Linked DNA regions of Homo sapiens: regions 1, 2 and 3 are each linked to region 4. Evidence: promoter capture Hi-C in human tissues and cell types (Jung and others, 2019). All regions are on one chromosome and are shown on one strand. Each heading gives the region's core, a stretch centred on a gene start or on the middle of the fragment in contact. The rest is flanking DNA. Distances are from core to core; before and after follow the strand shown.

Region 1 (2,820 bases), core at 299-2,798, 620 kb before region 4:
CCAGGCTTGTGGGATCCGGTGGGTTCCAGTGGTAATTACTAAGGCTTCCCAGTAGGACTGATTTTCCTGTGCCTCTATGCACACTCTCATGGCAGGCAGGGGTAGTTTGGGCTGAGACGAGATCTTGGCTTTTTTTCTCAGCATATTCTGGACCAAGCACTGACTGTTTTTAAACACTATTTTAGTTGAATCTAGGTTGACCTGGCTCTTCTACAAGCATGTAAATGCTGAAGAGAACACACCAGGGCTTGAGGGGGGGAGTGATCTATGGGTAGGGCAGGGCCACTTTCTTTTTGCCTTGCAAGGAGTTCTCTCACTGTTCTTTAAGGTGCTTTGGGCAATGAACCTGGAGAATCAGCTTCATGCTTATCTTGGACTGAAGAGTTGCCAGCTGTTCATTTATCCTCTCTGCTTATTGATCCATTTGATGCCTGTCAGGTGCCTATGCATTGCTTGCATTCCCTGGGTTGATTATGCGTTTGACTCTGATGGAGATCCCATTATTTGTTTTTCTGCAGGAGATTAAGTAAATGTCTAGAGCTGGAATAATGGAGAGGGCAAAGAAGGTGAGGCAGGAATAGAGAGTTGAGATTCTGTTTTGCATCTTCCTTGCTTGCTACAGTGCACTTGGCATAAGGGGATTTATTTCTGTCTTCTGTATTCTGTCCCATTGGTTTATGTGTCTTTTTATGCCACTACCGTTCTGTTTTGATTATTATAGCTTTGTAGTATATTTTGAAGTCAGATAGCATGATACCTCTAGCTTTATTTTTGTTCAGGATTGCTTTGGCTTTTTGGGGTCTTTTGTAGTTTCATACAAATTTTAGGACAGTTTTTCCTATATCTGTGAAGAATGTCATTGGTATTTTAATAGGGATCACATTGAATCTGTAGATCGCTTTGGGTAATGTGGTCATTTTGACAACATTAATTCTTCTGATCCATCAATATGGAATGTCTTTCCATTTTTTGTGTGTGTCTTCAATTTTTTCATCAGCGTTTTACAGTTAAGTAGAGATCTTTCACCTGCTTGGTTAAGTTTATTCTTAGATATTTGTTTTGTAGCTATTGTAAATGGGATTGCTTTCTTGATTTCTTTTTTAGCTAGTTTGTTACTGGTATACAGAATTGCTACTGATTTATGCATGCTGATTTTGTATCCTGCAACTTTACTGAATTCATTTATCAGTTCTTTTTTTTTTTTTTTTTTTGAAACAGAGTCTTGCTCTATTACCTAGGCTGGAGTTGGAGTGCAGTGGCTCAATCTTGGCTCACTGCAACCTCCACCTTCCAGGTTCAAGTGATTCTCGTGCCTCAGCCTTCTGAGTAGCTGGGACTACAGGCTCACGCCACCATGCCTGGCTAATTTTTTGTATTTTTAGTAGAGACAGGGTTTTGCCATGTTGGCCAGGCTGGTCTCCAACTCCTGACCTCAAGTGATCTACCCACTTCAGCCTCCCAAAGTGTTGGATTACAGGCGTGAGCCACCACTCCCGGCCTCAGTTATCAGTTCTAAGAGTTCTGGAGTCTTTAGGTTTTTCTATATAAATGTTGTCTGCACACTGGGACAATTTGACTTTCTCTTTTCCAGTTTGGATGCTCTTTATTCTTTCTCTTGTTTAATTGCTCTGGTTAGGACTTCTAGTACTATATTGATTAAGAGTGGTGAACTACAGTCTTCTCTTTAAGCTTAGAGTTCCCACTCCATCTTTGGGATTTAGCACATGTTCACCAAAGAAAAAAAACCCAGTCACGTTTTGTGTCCTGTAAAATCTGACACCTTGGCCTTCAGCTAGTGTTTAATTGAACCTCTCCTGAGTCCACTAGCCTCCAGGGCACATCTCATGTGAGTTCCTCCATTGAACTGTCAGCACTTTTGGCCACCTCTAATCCTCTGCTGTGAGTTTCTCTCCTGCCTTCAGAGGAGTCTCTTGATCCCTTTGCCTATGAGACTTCATAAAGTAGTGCCTCAACTCTGCCGCTGCTGTGAGCACTCATGGTGGGATGCTGATGTTCATGGCAAGGGGTCTGTCTCCTAGGGCTGCTGAAGCTGCCAACTCTTGAAGTGCTCCTGTGTTGTCCCTGCACTGCCTGGCAGTGTTCTGGCCAGGAGTGGGGAAGAGGTTTCCTTCCCACTCTGGGCCATACTTTGCCTGTGGTCTGATTTTTAGTTCAGGTTTAATCTACAAAGAAAATATGTGCTGGGCTGGCTCAGGCCCAAGCCAACACCAAAGTCTCGAGCCAATGCCAGCGCACAGTCACCAGGCTAGTGGCATGTTCATGTAGGGGCCTGGATCCCTGGCGGTGGAGTCCTATGACCACACGGATAAAATGGGCTGAGATGACAGTGAGTGATGGCTCCACTAAGAGCTGTCTCCATCAGGATGTCTGCTCTTCTCATCACAAAAGAGATAATACACAAGGTATTTGCTTTTCCTGGCGCAAAGCAGAAACTATTACTTGAAAGTTTCTGACATGCAGACTTAATGGTGCCAGTCACTTTGTGGCTGCTTAGTAAATATTTATCCAAAAAATTGCAAGGCCAAAAAATATGTCTAGTAGCCTGTGTTCTCATAGCAGAAACTTCTATTGCATTTCTGCTTTTGACTGGGAAGAAGGTTCCAGAACAGACAGTCCCATCTCTAAGTAAATCTAGCAGGAGAAGCAGTAACTTAGACAGGGAAAGCTGAAATCACAATAAAAGAATCCATCCAACAGCAACTCATGAATTTTTGAGAGGAGCTAGAGGAGCTACTCTGAGGGAGATTTTCTCTTGTGTTTCAAACCATTTCTGACCCCTGACTTAGCGAATCATTATGT
Region 2 (2,808 bases), core at 143-2,642, 600 kb before region 4:
AAAGAAAAGTTCTCAAAGGAAATTAAAAGTGCTACTCCATTGAACACACAAATGATAAGAAGGCGAAACAGCCTTATTGCAGATATGGAGAAAGCTTTAGTGGACTGGACAGAAGATCAAAGCAGCCACAACATTCCCTTAAGCCAAAGCCTAATCCTTAGCAAGGCATTAACTCTCCTCAATTCTATGAAGGCTGAGAGAGGTGAAGAAGCTGCGGAAGAAAAATTTGAAGCTAACAGAGGTTGATTAATGAGGTTTAAGGAAAGCAGCTGTCTCTATAACAGAAAAGTATAAGGGGAAGCAGCAAGTGCTGATGTAGAAACTGCAACATTGTCCAGAAGATCTATCTAAGATCACTGATGGAACTGGCTACACTAAACTACAGATTTTCAGTGGAGACAAAACAGCCTTCTGTTGGAAGAAGATGCCATGTAAGACTTTCATAGCTATAGAAGAGAAGTCAATGTCTGGCTTCAAATCTTCAAAGGACATGCTGACTCTTGTTAGGGGCTAATGCAACTGGCGTCTTTAAGTAGAAGCCAATGATTATTTACCATTCCGAAAATCTCAGAGCCCTTAAGAATTATGCTAAATCTGCTCCGCCTGGGCTCTCTATAAATGGAACAATAAAACATGATAATAGCACATCTGTTTACGTCATGGTTTACTGAATATTTTAAGCCCACCGTTGAAACTTACTGTTCAAAAAAAGATTCATTTCAAAATATTACTGCCCACTGACAATGTACTTAGTCACCTAAGAGCTCTGATGGAGATGTATGAGATTGATGTTGTTTTCATGCCTGATAACACAACATACATTCTGCAGCCCATAGATCCAAGAGTAAGTTTTACTTTCAAGTCTTCTTATTTAAGAAATACACTTTATAAGGCTAGAGCTCCCACAGACAGTGATTCCTCTGATGGATCTGGGCAAAGTAAATTGAGAACCTTCTGGAAAGAACTCACCATCCTAGATGCCATTAAGAGCATTCGTAATCCAGCCAGGCGTGGTGGCTCATGCCTGTAATCCCAGCACTTTGGGAGGCCAAGGTGGGCAGATCACAAGGTCAAGAGATAGAGACCATCCTGGCCAACATGGTGAAACCCCGTCTCTACTAAAAATACAAAAATTAGCTGGGCATGGTGGCATGTGCCTGTAATCCCAGCTACTTGGGGGGCTGAGGCAGGAGAATCGCTTGAACCTGGGAGGTGGAGGTTGCAGTGAGCTGAGATCGCACCACTGCATTCCAGCCTGGCCACAGAGCGAGGCTCCGTCTAAAAACAAAAAAAAAAAAACAAAACAAAACAACAACAAAAAAAGAACATTTGTAATCCATGGGGGGTCAAAATATCAACATCAACAGGAGTTTGGAAGAAGTTGATTATTCAACTCTCATGGATGACTTTGAGCAGTTCAAGACTTCAGGGGAGGAAGTCACTGTAGATGTGGTGGAAATGATGAGAACTAAGAATTAGGAGTGGAGCCTAAAGGTGTGACTGAATTGCTGCAATCTCATGATTAAAACCTGAATGGACAAGAAGTTGCTTCTTATGGCTGAGCAAAGAAAGTGGTTTCTTGAGATAAAATATACTCCTGATGAAGATGCTGTGAACATTGTTGCAATGACAACAAAGGATTTAGAATATTACATAAACTTAGTTGATAAAGCAGCATCCGGATTTGAGCGGATTGACTCCAATTTTGAAAAAATTTCTACTGTGGGTAAAATGCTATCAAGGAGCATTGCATGCTACAGAGAAATCTTTCATGAAGGAAGAATCAATCAGTGTGGCAAACTTTATTGTTGTCTCATTTTAAGAAATTGCCACAATCACTTTAACCTTCAGCAGCCACGACCTGATCAGTCAGAAGCCATTAACAAGACCCTCCACCAGCGAAGATACTGTGAAGATATTGTATGACTTGTTGAAGGCTCACATGATGACTAGCTTTTTTTTTCTTTTTTTCTTTTTTTAGCAATAAGGCATTTTAAAATTAAGCTCTGTACTTTTAGCAAAGACAATTATATTGCAAACTTAATAGACTACAGTATAGTATAAACATAACTTTTATATACACTGGAAAACCAAAAAATTAGTGTGACTTGCTTATTATGATAATCATTTTATTGTGGTGGTCTAGAACTGAACCCACAATATCTGCAAGGTTTGCCTGTACCACAAACTTCATGACTTAAAGCAACACAGATGAATTCTCTTATGAATCTAGAGATTAGAAGTCTGAAATCAAGATGTCAGCAGGGCCATGCTCCCTTCCTTTCTTCCTTCTTTCCTTCCTTCTTTCCTTCCTTCCTTCCTTCCTTCCTTCCTTCCTTCCTTCCTTCCTTCCCTCCTTCTTTCCTTCCTTCCTTCCCTCCTCCCTTTTTTCCTATTATTCAACAAATATTTGTCATATGCCAACTATGTGGCAGAGACTGAATTCGGAGAATTAGGGAGATATAGGAGGCAGCTTTTAGCTGATTAAGAAAGGACTTTATAATGCTCAGACCTTCCCAGAGACAACAATTACCATTTGTACCAAAACTTTGCAATTTACAAATTGCCTGTTTGCACATATGACCTTATTTTCCCTTCACAGCAATGCGCAATGGTAGGCACTATTATTATCTTCATCAATCAAGAACCTGAGCTTTAACAAGAATTTTAGCCAGGGTAACTTAGTCAATTTTGTGCTGCTGTAACAGAATACCTGAGACTGGGTAATTTATAAACAACAGAAATTTATTCTCTCATAATTCTAGGGGCTAAGAAATCCAAGATTAAGGCACCAGAAAGTTAGAGCCC
Region 3 (2,700 bases), core at 43-2,542, 540 kb before region 4:
ATTGATTTTTTGAAAGGTTTTTTGTGTCTCTATCTCTTTCAGTTCTGCTCTGATCTTAGTTATTTCTTGCCTTCTGCTAGCTTTTGAATGTGTTTGCTTGCTTCTCTAGTTCTTTTAATTGTGATGTTAGGGTGTTGATTTTAGATCTTTCCTGCTTTCTCTTGTGGGCATTTAGTGCTATAAATTTCCCTCTACACACTGCTTTAAATGTGTCCCAGAGATTCTGGTACACTGTGTCTTTGTTCTCATTGGTTTCAAAGAACTTCTTTATTTCTGCCTTCACTTTCTTATTTACCCAGTAGTCATTCAGGAGCAAGTTGTTCAGTTTCCATGTAGTTGTGTGGTTTTGAGTGAGTTTCTTAATCCTGAGTTCTAATTTGATTGCACTGTGGTCTGACAGACAGTTTGTTGTGATTTCTGTTCTTTTACATTTGCTGAGGAGGGCTTTACTTCTAATTATGTGGTCAATTTTATAATAAGTGTGATGTGGTGCTAAGAAGAATGTATATTCTGTTGATTTGGGGTGGAGAGTTCTGTAGATGTCTATTAGGTCTGCTTGTTGCAGAGCTGAGTTCAGGTCCTGGATATCCTTGTTAACCTTCCATCTCATTGATCTGTCTGATATTGACAGTGGGGTGTTATAGTCTCCCATTATTATTGTGTGGGAGTCTAAGTCTCTTTGTAGGTCTCTAAGGACTTGCTTTATGACTCTGGGTGCTGCTGTATTGGGTGCATATCTATTTAGGATAGTTAGGTCTTCTTGTTGAATTGATCCCTTTACCATTATGTAATGGCCTTCTTTGTCTCTTTTGATCTTTGTTGGTTTAAAGTCTGTTTTATCAGAGACTAGGATTGCAACCCCTGCCTTTTTTTTGTTTTTCATTTGCTTGGTAGATCTTCCTCCATCCGTTTATTTTGAGCCTGTGTGTGTCTTTGCACGTGAGATGGGTGTCCTGAATACAACACACTGATGGGTCTTGACTCTTTCTCCAATTTGCCAGTCTGTGTCTTTTAATTGGGGCATTTAGCCCATTTACATTTAATGTTAATATTGTTATGTGTGTATTTGATTCTGTCATTATGATATTTGCTGGTTATTTTGCCCATTAATTGATGCAGTTTCTTCATAGCATTGATGGTCTTTACAGTTTTGCCTGTTTTTGCGGTGGCTGGTACCGGTTGTTTCTTTCCATGTTTAGTGCCTCCTTCAGGAGCTCTTGTAAGGCAGGCCTGGTGGTGACAAAATCTCTCAGCATTTGCTTCTCTGTAAAGGATTTTATTTCTCATTCACTTTTGAAGCTTGGTTTGACTGGATATGAAATTCTGGGTTGAAAATTCTTTTCTTTAAGAATGTTGAATATTGGTCCCCACTCTCTTCTGGCTTGTAGAGTTTCTGCTAAGAGATCTGCTGTTAGTCTGATGGGCTTCCCTTTGTGGGTAACTCAACCTTTCTCTCTGGCTGCCCTTAACACTTTTTCCTTCATTTCAACCTTGGTGAATCTGACAATTATGTGTGTTGGGGTTGCTCTTCTTGAGGAGTATCTTTGTGGTGTTCTCTGTATTTCCTGAATTTGAGTGTTGGCCTGCCTTGCTATGTTGGGGAAGTTCTCCTGGATAATACCCTGAAGAGTGTTTTACAACTTGGTTCCATTCTCCCCATCACTTTCTGGTACACCAATCAAATGTAGTTTGGTCTTTTCACATAGTCCCATATTTCTTGGAAGCTTTGTTTGTTCCTTTTTGCTCTTTTTTCTCTAACTTTATCACTTCATTTCATTAATTTGATCTTCAGTCACTGATACCCTTTCTTCCACTTGATTGAATCGGCTATTGAAGCTTGTGCATGTGTCACAAAGTTCTCGTGCCAAGGTTTTCAGCTCCATCAGGTCATTTAAGTTCTTCTCTACAGTGTTTGTTCTAGTTAGTCGTTCATCTAATCTTTTTTCAAAGTTTTTGGCTTCCTTGCGATGGGTTCGAACCTCCTCCTTTAGCTCTGAGAAGTTTGTTATTACCGACCTTCTGAAGCCTCCTTCTGTCAACTCGTCAAAGTCATTCTCCGTCCATCTTTGTTCCATTGCTGGCAAGTACCCGCGCTCCTTTGGAGGAGAAGAGGCGTTCTGATTTTTAGAATTTTCAGCTTTTCTCCTCTGGTTTCTACCCATCTTGTTGGTTTTATCTACCTTTGGTCTTTGATATTGGTGACCTACAGATGGGGTTTTGGTGTAGATGACCTTTTTGTTGATGTTGATGCTATTCCTTTCTGTTTGTTAGTTTTCCTTCTAACAGTCAGGTCCTTTAGATGCAGGTCTGTTGGAGTTTGCTAGAGTTGCACTCCGGACACTGTTTGCCTGGGTATCGCCAGCGGAGGCTGCAGAACAGCAAATATTGCTGCCTGATCCTTCCTCTGGAAGCTTTGTCCCAGAGGGGCAGCCGCCTATATGAGGTGTCTGTTTACCCCTACTGGGAGGTGTCTCCCAGTTAGGCTACGTGGCGGTCAGGGACCCACTTGAGGAGGCAGTCTGTCCGTTGTTGGAGCTCAAATGCTGTGCTGGGAGAACCACTGCTCTCTTCAGAGCTGTCAGACTGGGACGTTTAAATCTGCAGAAGTTGTCTGCTGCCTTTTGTTCAGCTATGCCCTGCCCACAGAGGTGGAGTCTAGAGACAGTAGGCCTTGTTGAGCTGCAGTGGGCTCCACCCAGT
Region 4 (2,700 bases), core at 31-2,530:
CATGAGGGGGTTTCTGTGTCCAATCACACCTCCCTGCCTGATGTTTGAGGCTGGATGAGCCTGGGATGCCTCATGGGTCTCTGAGCCCTAGGCGTCCTCTGGCCCAGACAGTTCCCAGGCTGTTGGGAACGCCATGTCTTCTACCTCCAGAGTGAATTTCTCTGGTTTGTAGGAGGTGCCTTAGTTAGACCCAGCCAGGAAGCAGAGCTCCTATCGCCATACCTGGGCTAGCAGGGGGGCCAAGCCTGGCTCACCAGGCTGACCAGTCTAGCAAGATTAGAACATCAGAGCAGAGGCCAGGAACAGTGCTGGCAGCCAGGTGCTTGGCTGAGGCCCCTGGCTCCCTTAGCAGGTGGGACAGCTGAGCAGAGCTGCCCTGAGCCCGCCTCCCCTGCTCTTCCCCACTGGGAGGGAGGGCTGGCAAAGCCCTGGCTCTGCCTCCCTGCAGCTCTGCCACTCAGGTCTCCCATGGTAAGTCTCTCCTTCCCCAGCACCTGTCCATTCCTACCTTTTGGAAGCACCAGGAGGTGGGCCTGGGTCCTCTGCTGCCTCTTCAAGCCTTCATACTGGGCTCGCAGGAACTGGATGCTGAGTGGGGGCCCTTTCCCAGGGGCCTGAGTCCTGGAGCCCTCAGCCATTAAGTGAGACCTAAGCTGCCAGAAGTGGGGCAGGGCTGGGCACGGGCAGGGCAACCCCTCCATCCGGATCCGGGAGAAAAGCAAACACAGCTGGGTGGGGCAGGACCTGGGGAGGGGAGAGAGAGGGAGGGGGCAGTGAGGGAGAAGGAGAAGTGACGGGCAAAAGGAGGGTGGAAAGAGGAGTGGGACTGAGGAAGGAGATAGAAAAATAAGGGGGAAGGAGAAAGATGAAGGGGAAGAGGAGGTAGGGATAGGGAGAAATGTGGGGGAGGAGAAAGGTGGGAGACAGTGGCAGTAAGAGGAGAAGGAAATGTCAGAGGAAAGAAGGGGCAGCGAAGGGGGAAAGACTGGAGGAAGGAGGTGATAGTGACAAGCGGGGATTAATGGGGCGAGAGAAGAAAGAGAGGGAGGAAGATGGAGACAGGCAGGAGGAGGCAGGGAAAGGAGTGATGGGGAGTGGGAGACCGAGAAGTAAGGGGAGGACTGGGGGAGCAAAGAGAAAGGCAAGCCCAGCTGCTCAGAGCCCTTCAGGGGGGTCAAGAAGGTGTCTTATTCCAGGTCCTTCCATTGCTTGATCCTAAAGTTTAGAATCCAATTCCCAGTGCCACGGTGAAGTCTCCCCTTTCCTGGCAGAGCTGGGACTGGGGCTGGGGAGTGCTAAGCTCGCGCTCTGCTCACACATTTTGGACTGGAACGTGGCCACTTTTCAGCAAACCTGCCGGTTGGGTTTGCAGTAGTTCAAAGAACACCCTCGGGAGCTTCACAAGGTCGGTGCCTCTGGATGTGTGCCCCGCGGCCACACCCTAAAGAAACCCAGTAGCAAAGATCTCCCCAAGATCTCCACTCAGACCCCAACACACACCCCAGGTGAAAATTCAGCCCTAAAGTCAGCCATGGGACAGAGCCCAGGGGAATCTTGGCCTCGGGCCAGCCCTACCCCTTGGACATTTGGTGCAGCCTCTGCCGTCTCAGCATTCTCCAACCAAGTGGTAAGTTAGGCATCCCCTCACTCTCTGCTTGCCAGCCTCAACATTTCCACATTGCTTTTGAATCCCAGACCCTCTCCCTCTTACACCAGCTTTGACCTAGCCTTGCTGCATTTGGTCAACTAAGTCCCTTTCTATCTTCTCCTATCACGGTGCTTACTGATTACCCAATTACCCAATATGTCTACAGAGGCAATGGAAACAGAGTAGAGCCTGAACCTACAAGACATTTTGGACATTAACCAGACAAGATCTAGTCATTTGATGTGGGGGAGCCGTGGAAGATGGAGAGCAAATCTTCACTGGGTAGTATATGTTAGTTTTGCTAGGGCTGCCATAACGAAATCCCACAAACTGGATGTCTTAAACAACAAACATTATTGTCTCAGAGTTCTGGAGGTTAGAAGTCCAAAGTCAAGGTGTGAGCAGGGTTGGTTTCTTCTTGGAGCTGTGTGAGAGTATCTGTTCCATGCCTCTCACCTTGCTTCTGATGGTTTGCTAGCAATCTCTGGTATTCTTTGGCTTGCAAAAACATTGCCTAATCTCTGCCTTTATCTTGACATGATGTTCTTCCTTTTTATTTTTTTATTTTATTTTTTTTTTGAGAGGGAGTCTCACTCTGTCGCCCAGGCTGGAGTGCAGTGGCGTAATCTCAGCTCACTGCAAGCTCTGCCTCCCGGGTTCGCATCATTCTCCTGCCTCAGCCTCCCGAGTAGCTGGGACTACAGGCACCCGCCACCGCGCCCAGCTAATTTTTTGTATTTTTCGTAGAGACAGGGTTTCACCGTGGTCTCGATCTCCTGACCTTGTGATCCGCCCGCCTTGGCCTCCCAAAGTGCTGGGATTACAGGCGTGAGCCACCACACCCGGCCTAATATGATGTTCTTCCTATGTGGGTGTCTCTGTGCCCAATTTTCCCCTTTTTATAAGTACAGCAATCACATTGGATTAGAGCTCAATCTGTCTCAAAAAAATACCGAGAGAGATAGCCAAAGCTTCCTCATACCTTTTTATCGGTAGATCACTCTATCATGAAGGCAAGAGCAACCCATCCATGCTGGACCAGCTGCACCTGC

What was found. The method cuts DNA at HindIII sites, captures the fragments that hold promoters and counts their contacts. A contact is called where the count stands out against the background at its distance.
Region 1: a contact is called between a fragment that was not itself captured here and the fragment with the promoter of C9orf152 in region 4, in 1 of the 25 tissues and cell types used here (lymphoblastoid cells).
Region 2: a fragment that was not itself captured here is called in contact with the fragment with the promoter of C9orf152 in region 4 in 2 of the 25 tissues and cell types used here (IMR-90 fibroblasts and lymphoblastoid cells).
Region 3: a fragment that was not itself captured here is called in contact with the fragment with the promoter of C9orf152 in region 4 in 1 of the 25 tissues and cell types used here (dorsolateral prefrontal cortex).

What each region holds. Positions count from the first base shown.
Region 1 is chr9:109,588,869-109,591,688 of GRCh38, forward strand. No RefSeq gene overlaps it. Among named protein-coding and RNA genes, the nearest start is that of MIR3927, 79 kb to the left of the region's middle. The HindIII fragment of the contact is 9,387 bases long and covers 1-2,820 here.
Region 2 is chr9:109,605,901-109,608,708 of GRCh38, forward strand. No RefSeq gene overlaps it. Among named protein-coding and RNA genes, the nearest start is that of MIR3927, 96 kb to the left of the region's middle. The HindIII fragment of the contact is 6,131 bases long and covers 1-2,808 here.
Region 3 is chr9:109,663,151-109,665,850 of GRCh38, forward strand. It overlaps a transcript of PALM2AKAP2 not described here. Among named protein-coding and RNA genes, the nearest start is that of PALM2AKAP2-AS1, 110 kb to the right of the region's middle. The HindIII fragment of the contact is 3,209 bases long and covers 1-2,700 here.
Region 4 is chr9:110,206,879-110,209,578 of GRCh38, forward strand. It overlaps C9orf152 (chromosome 9 open reading frame 152), which reads right to left and starts at 1,281. Exons shown (of 2, transcript NM_001012993.3): 1 at 509-1,281. The coding sequence starts at 701. RefSeq lists enhancers at 1-450, 451-951. The HindIII fragment of the contact is 9,571 bases long and covers 1-2,700 here.